Regions from separate parts of the Homo sapiens genome. Here all the other regions are linked to region 1. The links are contacts of gene promoters, found by promoter capture Hi-C in blood cells and fetal thymus (Javierre and others, 2016). All regions are on one chromosome and are shown on one strand. Each heading gives the region's core, a stretch centred on a gene start or on the middle of the fragment in contact. The rest is flanking DNA. Distances are from core to core; before and after follow the strand shown.

The links. The method cuts DNA at HindIII sites, captures the fragments that hold promoters and counts their contacts. A CHiCAGO score of 5 or more calls a contact.
Region 2: a contact is called between a fragment that was not itself captured here and the fragment with the promoter of SLC25A46 in region 1, in 1 of 17 cell types (fetal thymus). The highest score is 5.4, in fetal thymus.
Region 3: a contact is called between the fragment with the promoter of FER here and the fragment with the promoter of SLC25A46 in region 1, in 7 of 17 cell types (total CD4 T cells, fetal thymus, activated CD4 T cells and 4 more). The highest score is 9.7, in total CD4 T cells.

Annotation. Positions count from the first base shown.
Region 1 is chr5:110,736,737-110,740,934 of GRCh38, reverse strand. SLC25A46 (solute carrier family 25 member 46) reads right to left here and starts at 1,928. Exons shown (of 8, transcript NM_138773.4): 1 at 1,533-1,928. The coding sequence starts at 1,815. It also overlaps a transcript of TMEM232 not described here. RefSeq lists enhancers at 1-89, 90-591, 1,836-1,905, 1,916-2,045, 2,296-2,345. The HindIII fragment of the contact is 3,989 bases long and covers 1-3,916 here.
Region 2 is chr5:109,403,896-109,408,249 of GRCh38, reverse strand. The region is part of intron 1 of PJA2 (praja ring finger ubiquitin ligase 2); the gene reads left to right. Among named protein-coding and RNA genes, the nearest start is that of PJA2, 3.9 kb to the left of the region's middle. The HindIII fragment of the contact is 565 bases long and covers 2,822-3,386 here.
Region 3 is chr5:108,745,251-108,749,360 of GRCh38, reverse strand. FER (FER tyrosine kinase) reads right to left here and starts at 1,464. Exons shown (of 20, transcript NM_005246.4): 1 at 1,361-1,464. RefSeq lists silencers at 1-327, 458-517, 598-697. The HindIII fragment of the contact is 11,506 bases long and covers 1-4,110 here.

The DNA.
Region 1 (4,198 bases), core at 679-3,178:
TGTCGCCCAGGCTGGAGTGCAGTGACGCGATCTCGGCTCACTGCAAGCTCCGCCTCCCGGGTTCACGCCATTCTCCTGCCTCAGCCTCCCGAGTAGCTGGGACTACAGGCATCCGCCACCACGCCCGGCTAATTTTTTCTATTTTTTAGTGGAGACGGGGTTTCATCGTGTTAGCCAGGATGGTCTCGATCTCCTGACCTCGTGATCCGCCCGCCTTGGCCTCCCAAAGTGCTAGGATTACAGGCGTGAGCCACCACGCCCGGCCTTACCCATTTTGTATGTATAGATCATCCCCAAATAGCAACAGAAAATGCTACTAGCATTTTCTGGAAGGTGTTAGGAAGGTTTAATCTTGTTTACTGTGTAAGTCTCTTAGGTGTCTATCTTTGTTGCAAAATTAACATTCACCCACCTGTTAAGGCTGCAAAATAAACCCCTGCTTGTGTCAAGGAACTCCTCCTCATTGTAACCACCAAAGCATAACTTTAAACCGGGAAGAGTCAAAAAGCTAATTGTATGACAATTAGCTAGGTAAGTCATCTATCTTTCTTCACATCCTCATTTACTCACTAGACATTCGTTAGTCTGTTCTTCTTAGTTAAATATTATTGTACTTCCAAGTCAAAGTCGAGGAAATAAGAATAAAGCTGATTTCTACAATAAATTTAATATTAATACCATTAATCTATTATTCTAACAATTCCAGAAGAATAGAAAGAGGTAGCCATTATTCACATTTTATGAATAAAAAAGGATGTTGAAAATATCTACATCATGCAGTGTTGCAGCTTTTCTGACATCCCATGGAGAATAATTATGTCATGATTCCGAAGTCCTATCTTGAAATTGTATCAGTGTTTCTAACTTTTATATGTAGTTTTTAGGTCAGCAGAAGGAAAGCAGAAAGGAAAATTATAGGAAGGAAACTTTCTAGACTGGGGATCTGAAAAGCAGACAAAACTCCTGTGTTCAAAAAGGAAAAGGAAGGAAACTTTTTTTTTTTAGCCTATGTGTCCCATACAGGATTCTTCTACACATCTTAAAGATGAGAAAACTGAGGGCTCACAGAGGTTAAGTTGTTCAGATTACGAGTGGCACAACCAAGTTTGAACCCAAGTATGCTTATGCTGAAAGGCTTCTCTTTTCAGAACACAAAACTACAAGTAAACACATTAATTAATTAATTAAATCAAGAAAATAGAGCTGCCAAAGTGAATCAGGGAACAGTTAATAATCCAATCTCCTTTTTAACTCAGACCATCAGTTGAGACACCAAAACCTCTAAAAATTCCTGCTATGCACCCCATAGCTAAGGCAGATGTCTTTTTTGGAGTTGATCCAGGAGAATTCGTTTGTGAGGAAGAGGAGGCCAGCCTCAGGGGCAGAGGACCAAAGGAGGGCAAAGGGTGTGGCGCGCGATAGGATGAGAAGGAATAGGAGGCGGGATCCTCTGCGCCGCTTCCGGGGTCTGCAGGCCGCAAGCCGCGGCCCCAGTAACCCCTCATCCCTGTGTCGGTCCCCATGCTTCTCACCACTGCTCTGCCCCTGCACACTGCCGCCGCCGCCACTGGAAAAGGGTTCCTCCGTGGGGCCTTCGTACGGGGTGGAGGTGGTGGGCACGCCGTAGGGCGGGCTCTTCTCGCCCCAGTGCAGGTTGCGGCTGCCGGGGATATCTGGGGGAGTCGTCACCCAGTGGCCCAGGTCCGACCCGGTGCTGAAGGACCTTGCAGGGAAGGCGCCGCCAAAGCCCTGCTCGTCCCGGGCACCACCCCGGTAGCCCAAGCCATCAAATCCGTCCGGGCGCCGCGGATGCATCGCAGCGGGGGCAGGATGACGCGAGCCCGCCCGGAGCCCACCACCACCGGGGCCACCACGACCTAAGCACACACAGCTTCCCGTCGGCCGCCGCCGCGTCAGGGGTAAATTCTGACAACCGGAAGTCACGTTGGAAACCCGGAAGTCTTCGGAGCACGTGATTATAGCCTCTTCCGGCAACCATTAAAGGGCACGGTTGCTAGGGAGACGCGGCGGTAACCTGGACCTTAAAAGTTTGTTGTCGTTAGGGAATAGGTGGGAATATGGTTGTGGGATTAATGAAACACAGTACCAAAGAGATTCCAGAAAGAGAACTGGTGTAGGAATAGGGCCTGCATGGGAGGAGTTCAAAGATGCTTCTTGGAGGGAGCCGATAACCCGCGGGTGGAGCCTACCCGGTGAGATCCCGGCCAGAAATACCCCATGTCACAGCTACGCCCCAGATCTCAGTGTTTTCTCACGGGCCTGGTGCCTCGCCTGCTCCGAGGAAGCTAGTAGAGGTTGGAGTTGTGGAGGGTTAATAACGTTCCACCTAGCTTTGTCTCCCGCACTTGGGGTTTTGGATCAAATCTATTGAGAGATATGGTACCGCCCAGTGAACGCGAAAGTACTGTGGACCACCAGAGCAAGCATTTTAAAAGTTGAAGTGCACGTCGGGGGTGAAAGAAACCCACGTACTCGAATACTGTCCTCCTGGAGTTAGAAATTACGCGTTTTCCTTTTCTAAGGCTGTAAAGAAACTATAGTTTTCTGTCGTATTTTTTTCTGATGTGTCTAAATCACTCAGGGTATTGAAATCCCAGTTATATCGTTCAAAATTGGGACCTCTAATTGAATAACTGAGAGGACTACTGTAGAGCGTCCCCTACTACCTGTTTTCATTAGCTCCACGGGCTCTTGGGCCAGGCTCCCTCCCCAGATCTGAGGAAGACTTCCATGGTTTCATCCTATGTTCCTTCAACTCGTTGGAAGCCCAGGATTCCTAGAGCTTTTCCAAGAGAACTCTGACGTGCAGTTCTCGATCTTCCAGATGCGAACCTTGATTGAGAGTGATAATCAACTTTGTTTTGATTGAACTGACATTTTTTTCTGTGGTTTTATCACTTTTTATTTTTTATGGGTGTATAGTAGGTGTATATATTTATGGGTTACATGAGATATTTTGATAGCGTACATTAAAATGTATAATTAACATTTTTAAATAACGAATTGACATTCTTAAATTTGATTGCGATGCAGCTTGGGCAAAGGTGTTGAGTCTCTTGACTGTATAAAATTTAAATGTCCATATAGTAAATTTTAAAATATATAGTAATCACAATTGAAAGGCAAATCACAAACAGAAAAATGACATTTTAACATGGTTTAAACAATGGAACAGTAGCTTTAATGTACAAAGAGTTCATACCAATGAATAAAGGCAAATCAGAAATATGAGCAAAGGACATGTAGAGGCAATTCATACAAAAAAAGGAAGTGTAAATAGATAATATCATATAAAAAGTCCTTTACTAATTGAAAAAAGGTAAATCTTAATTATCTTTCACGTATTAAGGTGTTTAAAAGGGAAAATGCACATTGTCTTTCCAGGTGAGAAGAAAGTAGCTTTCATTAATTTCTGAAGTGATATAAAACATAACTTTCTGATGGAGAGCAGTTTGGCACTATGTATCAAAAACTGTAAAAATAACCATATTTTTTGACTCCAAAATCTTAGAAAACAAATATAGGGGTTTTTTACATGTTTCTGGCATGGATAACATACATATGTTTATGGCATGCTTGCTCATAATAGGAAAAAAATAAGCAGGAATGCAAATATCAAATAATTATTATTGATTAATAATTTATTATTTAAAGTGTATATCCATACAGTTGTTTAACAAAAATATATTTATTAAGCACCTATCTCGTGTCAGATACTATTTTAAGCAATAAGGATAGAATGATAAATAAGCCAGACAAGGTGCTTGCATTGTTAGAACTGACATTCTAGTTTAGGGAGACAAAGAACAGATAAATATATCCTGTCAAATATAGTGCAATGTCAAATAATGACATGATTGTATTAAAAAAGCCTAAGTGAGCAATAAAGGAAGCTTTTTTTTTTTTTTTTTAGAATAAGGAAGTCCTCTCTGAAGAAGTGACCTTTGAGCAGAGAACTGAATGAAGTGAGGGAGTGAGCCATTTGTGAATATGTGGGAGAAGTTTTCCAGGCAGAGCTGAGCAAGAGAAACGCCCCGATAGCAAACTAGGTAGCCAGTGAGAAAGGGTGAAAGTGATAGGAAATGAGAGCTGAAAGGAGGCTAGGTGCCAGATCTTGCAAAGCCTTGTCGGTGGTGAACAAAATTTAGGTTTTTTGAGAGTAGAGGAGTAATGTGAC
Region 2 (4,354 bases), core at 1,855-4,354, 1.3 Mb after region 1:
AAAAATTAAACAGTATGGAAGAATGTAAGGTAAAAATTACCGCTTCCACTTCTAGTCCTGCTTGCATCTTGATTGTCAGCCACTGTTAACAATTCAGTAAACTTCCTCTATGTGTGATTATTTCTGGAGCATGGGTTCCTAGAAGTGAAGTTGCTCAGTTAAAAGATTATGCATATTTTAAATTTTGGTAACCCTTTCTCCCTCTTTATTACTCTTGTTGAAAATATTCTTGAATGTTTCTTATGCATTTCTTCTTCTAGGTAAACTTTAGACTGAACTAAAAATCCTTAGCTATTTTGAATAAGGTTATATTGAAATTTTAGATTAATTTGGAGACAACTGATCTTTATAGTATTGAGTCTCTCTCCTCAGAAATGTGGCCTCTCCATTTTATTCACATCTTGTTTTATACTGTTAGGGAAATTTTTATAGTTTTTCTTTTTTTTCTTCATACGTATAACATTCCTTCCTGGTATTCCTATTTTATGGTTTGATTCGTGTGGTGGATGGAAACTTTCAGTAACATTTCTCTCTCTCTGTTTTCTCTGGTTATAGCAAAACTTTTGAGTTTTCTATCATGTATCAGATTATTTTATTGAGTTGATTATCAGGAGATATTCACAGTTTTGTGGTTTCCTTTTCAGTTTTTATAACTTATGTGTTTTTCTCATTGCTTTTGCAATTATACATCTTATAAAATGTTGAGCACTGGTAGATTAAAAACTAATAGCACTGATAGCTAACAACAAACATGGCATTGTTTCTGACTTTAAGGGGGAATGCTTCTAATGTTTTAGCATTAATTATGATGTTTGGTGAAGCTTTCTGGTAAAGCCGCTGATATTAAAATATTTCCTTCTAGTCTTGGCTTTCCAAGATGCTTATGTTGTTGTTTTTGACATTTTTAAAAACCATAAATGAGTTTTCTTATATATATTTTTTTGACATCTTTTGAGGTGGGTATATGTGGGCATCACCAGTATTCCCTGGTTTATATTTTCCTGAGAGAGCACCCTCTTAGAAAATCAACCTTATTGAGGATAACTTAGATACAGTAAAATGTACTTATTTGAAATGTACAGTGTATTTTGTTTTGACAAATATGTGCTCTGTGACCACCACCACAGTCAAGAGTGGAATATTTTCATACCACAATTAAGATATAGAATATTTTCATCTCCCCCAAAGTTCCCTTTTGCAGTCAATCACAATTTCACCCTCAGGACTAGGAAAGCACTTATCATCTTTTTCTTGCTATAAATTGGTATCATTTTGTCTAGAATTTCATGTAAGTGGAATGATGTAATACATACTCTTTTGTATCTGGCTTTTTCTCTTGGCATGTTTTTCAGGATTATCCATGTTTTTCTGTATTTAACGGGTTCTCATTTTATTGCTGAATAGAAGTCCTTGGTATTGATTTACTAGTTTGTTGACCATTCCACCTATTTACAGATACTTGGATTGTTTCCAGTTTGGGGCTGTTATTAATAAATAGCCTTCATTTGTTGAACATTCCTTTATTCAATGAACATTCATTTATTTTGAATTTTTGTGAACATCTTTTTTTTCTTGGTAAATACCTAGACATGGAACTTGTTGGGTTGTATGATACATGGATGTTTATAAGAAACTGCCAAACTGTTTTCCAGAGTGGTTGTCACATTTTACATATCCATCAGCAGTGTATGACAGTTCCAATTGCTCCACATCATCCTCAGCACTTGGTTATTTCAGTCTTTTAAATTTTAGCCCTTTTAGTGGGTATATAGTAGTATCATACTGGGATTTTGATTTGCATTTACCAGATGACTAATGGTGCTGAGAATTTGCTCTAGTGTATGTCTTCCTTTGTGAAGTATCTGTTGACATTTTTTGCTCATTAAAAAACAAACAAACAACAATGGGTGGGCCTGGCGCGGTGGCTCACGCCTGTAATCCCAGCACTTTGGGAGTCCGAGGCAGGCGGATCACGAGGTCAGGAGATCCAGACCATCCTGGCTAACACGGTGAAGCCCCATCTCTACTAAAAATACAAAAAATTAGCCGGGCGTGGTGGCGGATACCTGTAGTGCCAGCTACTCCGGCTGAGTTAGGATAATGGCGTGAACCCGGGAGGTGGAGCTCGCAGTGAGCCAAGATCGTGCCACTGCACTCCAGCCTGGGCGACAGAGCGAGACTCCGTCTCAAAAAAAAAAAAAAAAAAAAATGGGTTTGTCTTATTGAGTTGTAAGCATTTTTTAATACATTCTTTATACAACTCATTTGACACACAGAGATACATAAACACACACACACACTGCAATCTGAAGCTTGTTTTTTTTTTATTTTCCTAACTTTAAAAGAAGAGCTTTTAATTTTGATAAATTCATCTTACCAACTTTTTCTTATGATTTGTGCTTCTGTGTTCTAAGAACTCTTTGCTTAATGCAAAGTTGTGCAGATTTACTCTTAGGATTTTTCTATAAGTTTTCTAGTTTTGGCTTTCATGTCAAGGCACATTATCCATTTTGGGTTAGTTTTTGTATATGGTGTGTAGTAAGGGTCAAGGCTCATTTTCTTTTCAAATGTATATGTAGTTCTAGCACCATTTGTTGGGACTACTTTCCTTTCCCCATTGAATTAACTTTGTCAAAAGTCAGTTGATCATATATGTAAATCTGTTCCTGTACTTTTCTCTTGATCTTTATGCCTATAATTTTGCCAGTACTGAGTTATCATGGTTATTTTTACTTATAAGTATTGAAATTAGGTAATATGAATCCTTGAACTTTATTCTTTTTCAAAATTGCCTTGGCTATTCTAACTTTACCGTAAAGCTTTTAGAGGCTGCGTGTTGGTTTCTACAAAAAGACCTGAAGGGATTTTAATTTGGTTTGTGTCGAATGCATAGATCAATTTAGGAAGAATCGACATCTTGAGTCTTCCAATTCATGAATACAGGTTGTCTCCATTTATGTAGGTCTTCTTTCATTTCCTTTGTCAGCATTTTGTAGTTGCAGCATGAAGATGTTGCTCATTTTGTTGGATTTATATCTAAGTATTTAATAATTGATACCATTATAAGTGATAATTTTCTTAAATTTTAGTTTCCAGTTATTCACTGCTATATGTAAAAATACAGTTGGTTTTTGCATATGGACCTTGATGCTTGCAACCTTGCTAAATTCATTCATTTGAGTAAATTTTTTGTAGATTCTCTGGAATTGTCCTATGTAGACAATCATGTTATTTGCAAATATAGATCAGTTTTATTATTTTTGAATTTATATGTAACTCCTTCCACCTTTTCTTCTTCTTAGACTGGCTAAGACCTCCATTATGATGTTGAATAGCAGTGGTGAAAGCAGATATCCTTCTCTGTTCCTGATCTTAAGAAGAAAGCTTTGAATCTTTCATTATTGAGTGTGATAGAGTGGTGCTATAGCTTGAATGCTTATGTCCCTTCCAAAATTCATAGCATTGAAACATAATCCCCATTGTGAGGGGGATCTCAAGGAGGTGATTAGGTCATGAAGCTTCTGCCTTCATTAATGGATTCGTGTGCTTATAAAAGAGGTCCCAGAGAGCTCCTATCCCCTTATGCCGTATGAGAACACAGTGAAAAAACTGCAGTCTGTGAACCAGGAAGTGGCTCTCACCAAACGCTGAATCTACCAGCACCTTGATTTTGGACTTCCCAGCCTCCAGAACTGTGAAAAATAAATTTCTTTTATTTTTATTTCTATTTTTTTTTGACAGAGTCTTGCTCTGTCGGCTAGGCTGGAGTGCAGTGGCAGTCTCAGCTCGCTGCAACCTCGGTCTCCCAGGCTCAAGCAATTCTGCCTCAGCCTCCCGAGTAGCTGGGATTACAGGCGTATGTCACCATGCCTGGCTAATTTTTGTATTTTTAGTAGAGACGGGGTTTTACCATGTTGGCCAGGCTGGTCTCAAACTCCTTACCTCAGGTAATCCACCTGCCTTGGCCTCCCAAAGTGCTGGAATTACAGGTGTGAGCCACCGCGCCCAGCCGAGAAATAAATTTCTGTTGTTTATAAGCCACTTCAGTCTATGGGAGCTTGTTATAGGAGTCCTAATGGACTAAGACAAGTGGCCTTTTATCATATTGAGGATGTTCCCATTCTATTCTTGGATTGCTGAGAGGTTTTTGTTGTTGTTGTTGTTGTTGTTGTTGTTTTTGAGATGGAGTCTTGCTCTGTTGCCCAGGCTGGAGGGCAGTGGCACCATCTCAGCTCACTACAGCCTCCGCCTCCTGGGTTCAAGTGATTCTTCTGCCTCAGCCCCCTGAGTAGCTGGGATTACAGGTACACGCCACCAAGCCTGGCTAACTTTTTTGTATTTTTGTAGAAATGGG
Region 3 (4,110 bases), core at 215-2,714, 2.0 Mb after region 1:
ACGCCCGCCACAGCCCTTTCGCGCCGGCACCCGCCCCCTCAGCCTTCGGGTCCCGGGATGGTGGGAGGGGCGGCCCTCGTGGGGCTGGGTGTGTAGCCCGGCCCAAGCCCCAACCAGGAATGCTCTGCTGCGGGCGGGAGGATGAGCGGATGACCCTGCAGCCAGGGACGGGGGTTGGGGGGGGCGCTGGCTGAGGGCGGAGGAAGAGCCTCGGCACAGCCCCCAACGCCCTGGCCGAATCCCGGGCGCCCCTCTGCGGGCAGGCATTGTTGCCCCCGCTCTAGGCTTGCCTTCCCTCCTCTTCCCCCCTCCCCCCGCGTTGCCCCGGGCAACAGCGCCTACCGCCGGCGGCGCGAAACGCACCTACCTAGAACCTGACAAGCCCGAACCCCTCAGACTCCGGAGCCAGTCACCACCCCGCGTCACGGGGGCTGCCACAGCCAATAGGCGCCACTGTCACGAACCTCTGCAACCAATCCCGCTGCACTCCGGTCTCCGGGCACCCTCGAGGCCTCAGCCAATGGGCAAGAGCGGAAGGCGGGCGCAGCCGCCCGGCCCTCAGCCCCCTCCTCCACTACCTCCCAGGAGGCGGGGAGCGGCCGATTGGCCCGGTCCCCGAAGGGGCAGGACTTGGGCCCTAGGCTGGGTGGGCGCACGCTTAGCCCAAGCTGCGGGCCCTGGGAGTGGAGACGCGGAGCTGCGGTCGCCGCTTTCTGGGCTCGCTCACCAGCCCGGGTGGAGTCCCGAGGTCTGCGCGTTTGTGCCGCTCTCCCCGCCTCGGTAACCTGCTCCTCCCTAGCGGGTGTCCTGGGCTGCCGTGGTGAGATGGGGCCGGAGACGGACGAAGGCCTCACAGGAAACTTTGGGAGGCTCGCCTGGCCGCGGCCGGGAAGTGGCCGGACCGGCGATGATAAGCTGAGGCCGCCTGGAAGGGACTACTCGGCGGGTCGGCAGCCGGAAAGGAATTCGGAGAGTGGGGGCGGAGGCGTGATTAAAATGTTAAGTGTGCCCGGAGGGCGCTGGGCGATCCCTGGAGCTGAAATCTCCGGGAAGGGAAGCTGCTTTAGGGCCGCGAGGCCCCCACCCCTAAAATAGGCACTTTTCAGCCTCAGAATTGGTCACTTTTTCCTGTACGTTCCCACGTTTTACTTGTATCTGTTATTAACGTGGATTGCTTTAGAATGGTTTTCAGCAACTCCAGTTTACTCTGAGTCCCTTAAGGACGGGAACTGTCTTTCAATCCTGTACTCCCAGTGCCTGAGCCTGCCTAAAAATGTTAGAAACTCAATGCTGGAATTGTAATGGATGTTTAAAAGCATACAGCAGGTCCTGGGAGTGGCCCCCTATAATAAATTCTTACCTCTTCGGGAGTCTAGAATGCGTGGAGAACCCAAACGGGTCTGCTCTTCAGTGATGGCCGTTTCTGAAGCGTCCTTCACCAAAAGAATTTGGTGAAAAATGAGTAATGTGAACTACAAGATTATTACTAGGTGATCAGTAACAGTAGGATAGGTATGCGTCATTATTCGAGGGTGTGACCCTCCCATGTTCCTGTAGTAGACTTTTTAAGGCGGTGTTATCTTTTGCATTGGTTGAACCACATAGCGTCAATCCGGTATTTCCCCTCCCTCTCAAAAACTGAGTTACATAGGAGCCAAAGAAGAGTGGTGAATATTTTCTCTAAGCAGGGTTATTTATTTAACCGTAGAGAACAGCCCTACACATAAAAAAACATAAATCTTAAGTTGGACTTTTTTTAAGTCTACTGTTTTAAAGCTAAATAAACAAAAACCAACATAAAAATTTTAAATAAGAGGCTTAATTCTCCCTATTGAAAATGGAGGATGAGATTTCCCGTCCCTTTCTCTCCGAGCATTTGTCTTAGAAAACTTAAGTACTTTCTTAATTGTTAAGTACTTTCTCAACTCTTTGAAATGTGTATAAATCCACTTGAGGACTAGATAGGTCTTGTCAACTGTATGCTCAGTCAGGAATGTCTCTGGACCTTTTTTTTTTTTTTTTTTTTGAAATGCTGCACATATCAACGGAGTAGCATCCTTCCCTATCTCCCAGTTTCTGTGAGAGAGTAGGAGCGTAACTTCGGTGAGCAACTTGCTCCGTGTTGCAAAACTACCTTCCGTCATAAAGACAGGAGAAGTTTGTTTTTCCTCTGGATAAAACCAATTAACTAACACAGATGGTCACCCCAATTATTAAGTAAAGTTAATGTCACAAATGTCAGGTCCTCTTACTTGAGGACTAGTTATTGTTCAACTTGAAAACGTGTATGTAATGGGTCGTATATACTTGGCTATACAAAAGGGCAAGATTTCTGTCTTTGCAATCTCTTAGCAAATTGCCTGTGATGTGTATCACAGTCTCGTTTAATGCTTATTCAGTAATAAAAGTGTTTTGTCTACTAACGTTTGTGGAGAGGATTTCTGGGTTGGGAGATTTTGGTTTTTAATTATATTTTTCCAACAATGCCTATACCCAGAATGTTGGGATGACAAAGTTAAGGAAAGTAGTTACTTCGGAGTTTTTAAATTGTTCTCTAAAATGATGGTTAATGTTTCATATGTATTTCATAGTGATTGTTAAATGCACAAACTGTGGTTCTGTGAGTAAACTTCTTAAAATAGAAGTTAATTTTCTGTGAACATCAAATGTTATAGTATATGTAATGTCAATAAGAATGAAATGAATGAAAATTTGGTTAGGTAAGGCCAAAATACAACTTTGGAGACTGCTTCATGACTGAATACCTTTCCCAAGAACCTTAGAATTTCTCCATTTATACAAAGGGAATCAAAATGTAGAAAGATGTGGTTGGTGAATACGTTATTACATATTTGCAGAAAGTAGCTTTCAATAAAGATATGGTAGAAATAGAGCTGTTTGATACACAACATGTGTGTTTGTGTTAAGGAACCCAAATCTAGAAAAATCAGCAAGAATCTTTCCATATCTACAATTGTTCTCTGAGTTCTCACCTATTCATTCCAAAACCTTAAAAGCTGTCTACCATATGCCAGTCATTGTGCTAGGAAATGCAGTTGTGAAAGAATATACTTGAAGTAAATGAATGTGGCAAAAATCTATGCTGCATTTTTGAAGCATACAAAAATATATAGCAAATCCAGTTTCACATTTTTTTCCTCTGTTGGAATTATCACATTGCATTGCAACACATTTAATAAACACTGTGTGTCACCTTAGTATATATTCCATGTTCTCAAATACCAAACTTTGTCTGTTCTAATAGCATTACTTACTGGACAATGAAAATAATAATGTGGACATCAAACCTAGGTGGGTAATAAAAAATGATTGAAAAGTTTTTTACTTTTTTTGATTAGCACCATCCATGCCTCACCCCATCTCTCCACCTCCCTTTTTTCCTGTTTAAAAGTATAGACTGCAAGAGGAATCTTGGTTGTGTGCCATCTTAGTTCAGTAGTTCCAATACTTACCCCTCCCTCCTTTTCTTCATCTGTGTCTCTTTTCTGCCAACTCCTTTGATTTGTGACTCTCTGCTTTCTAATCCACAATTCATACCTATCCACAATTCATAACTAACCATACACACATACTGCTCCTAAAATAGAGATCATGATGAGGTATGCAATATGGAAACCATATCTATCCTTATTCTATACATGCTGCAGTGTTTGTTTTCAGTGGATATATATTTTTTTCTTTTTGAAAATTGTTCTCTTGAATGAATACTGTTCCTAGAGGTCACATTTGTGTGAAATTTTCTTTAGGACTGTTTTGGCTTTCCAAATTTCAAATTTTCAAAATGGCTTAATCATTTCCTTTATTTTTTGAATCTGTGTTAGGAAAATAGCAGAGTAGTTGGAGGGGGAGGGAAGAAAAGAAAATGAAGTAGACTTGAAGGAAGAAAACATCCATTCTGTCTTCAAACTAGATGTCAAATGTATTAACACCATCTCCCAACCATCTTTCCCAGCCAGCGGGTGGCCATCCTAGTACTCTAATTAATATTGGTTCTCCTGCTTCCCTGACCTGCTCTCCATTAAGAAATCCACCAACATTCGTAATCAAGACATGCCTTCTCCAAAATGCCCCTGGATCACTAAAGGCCTG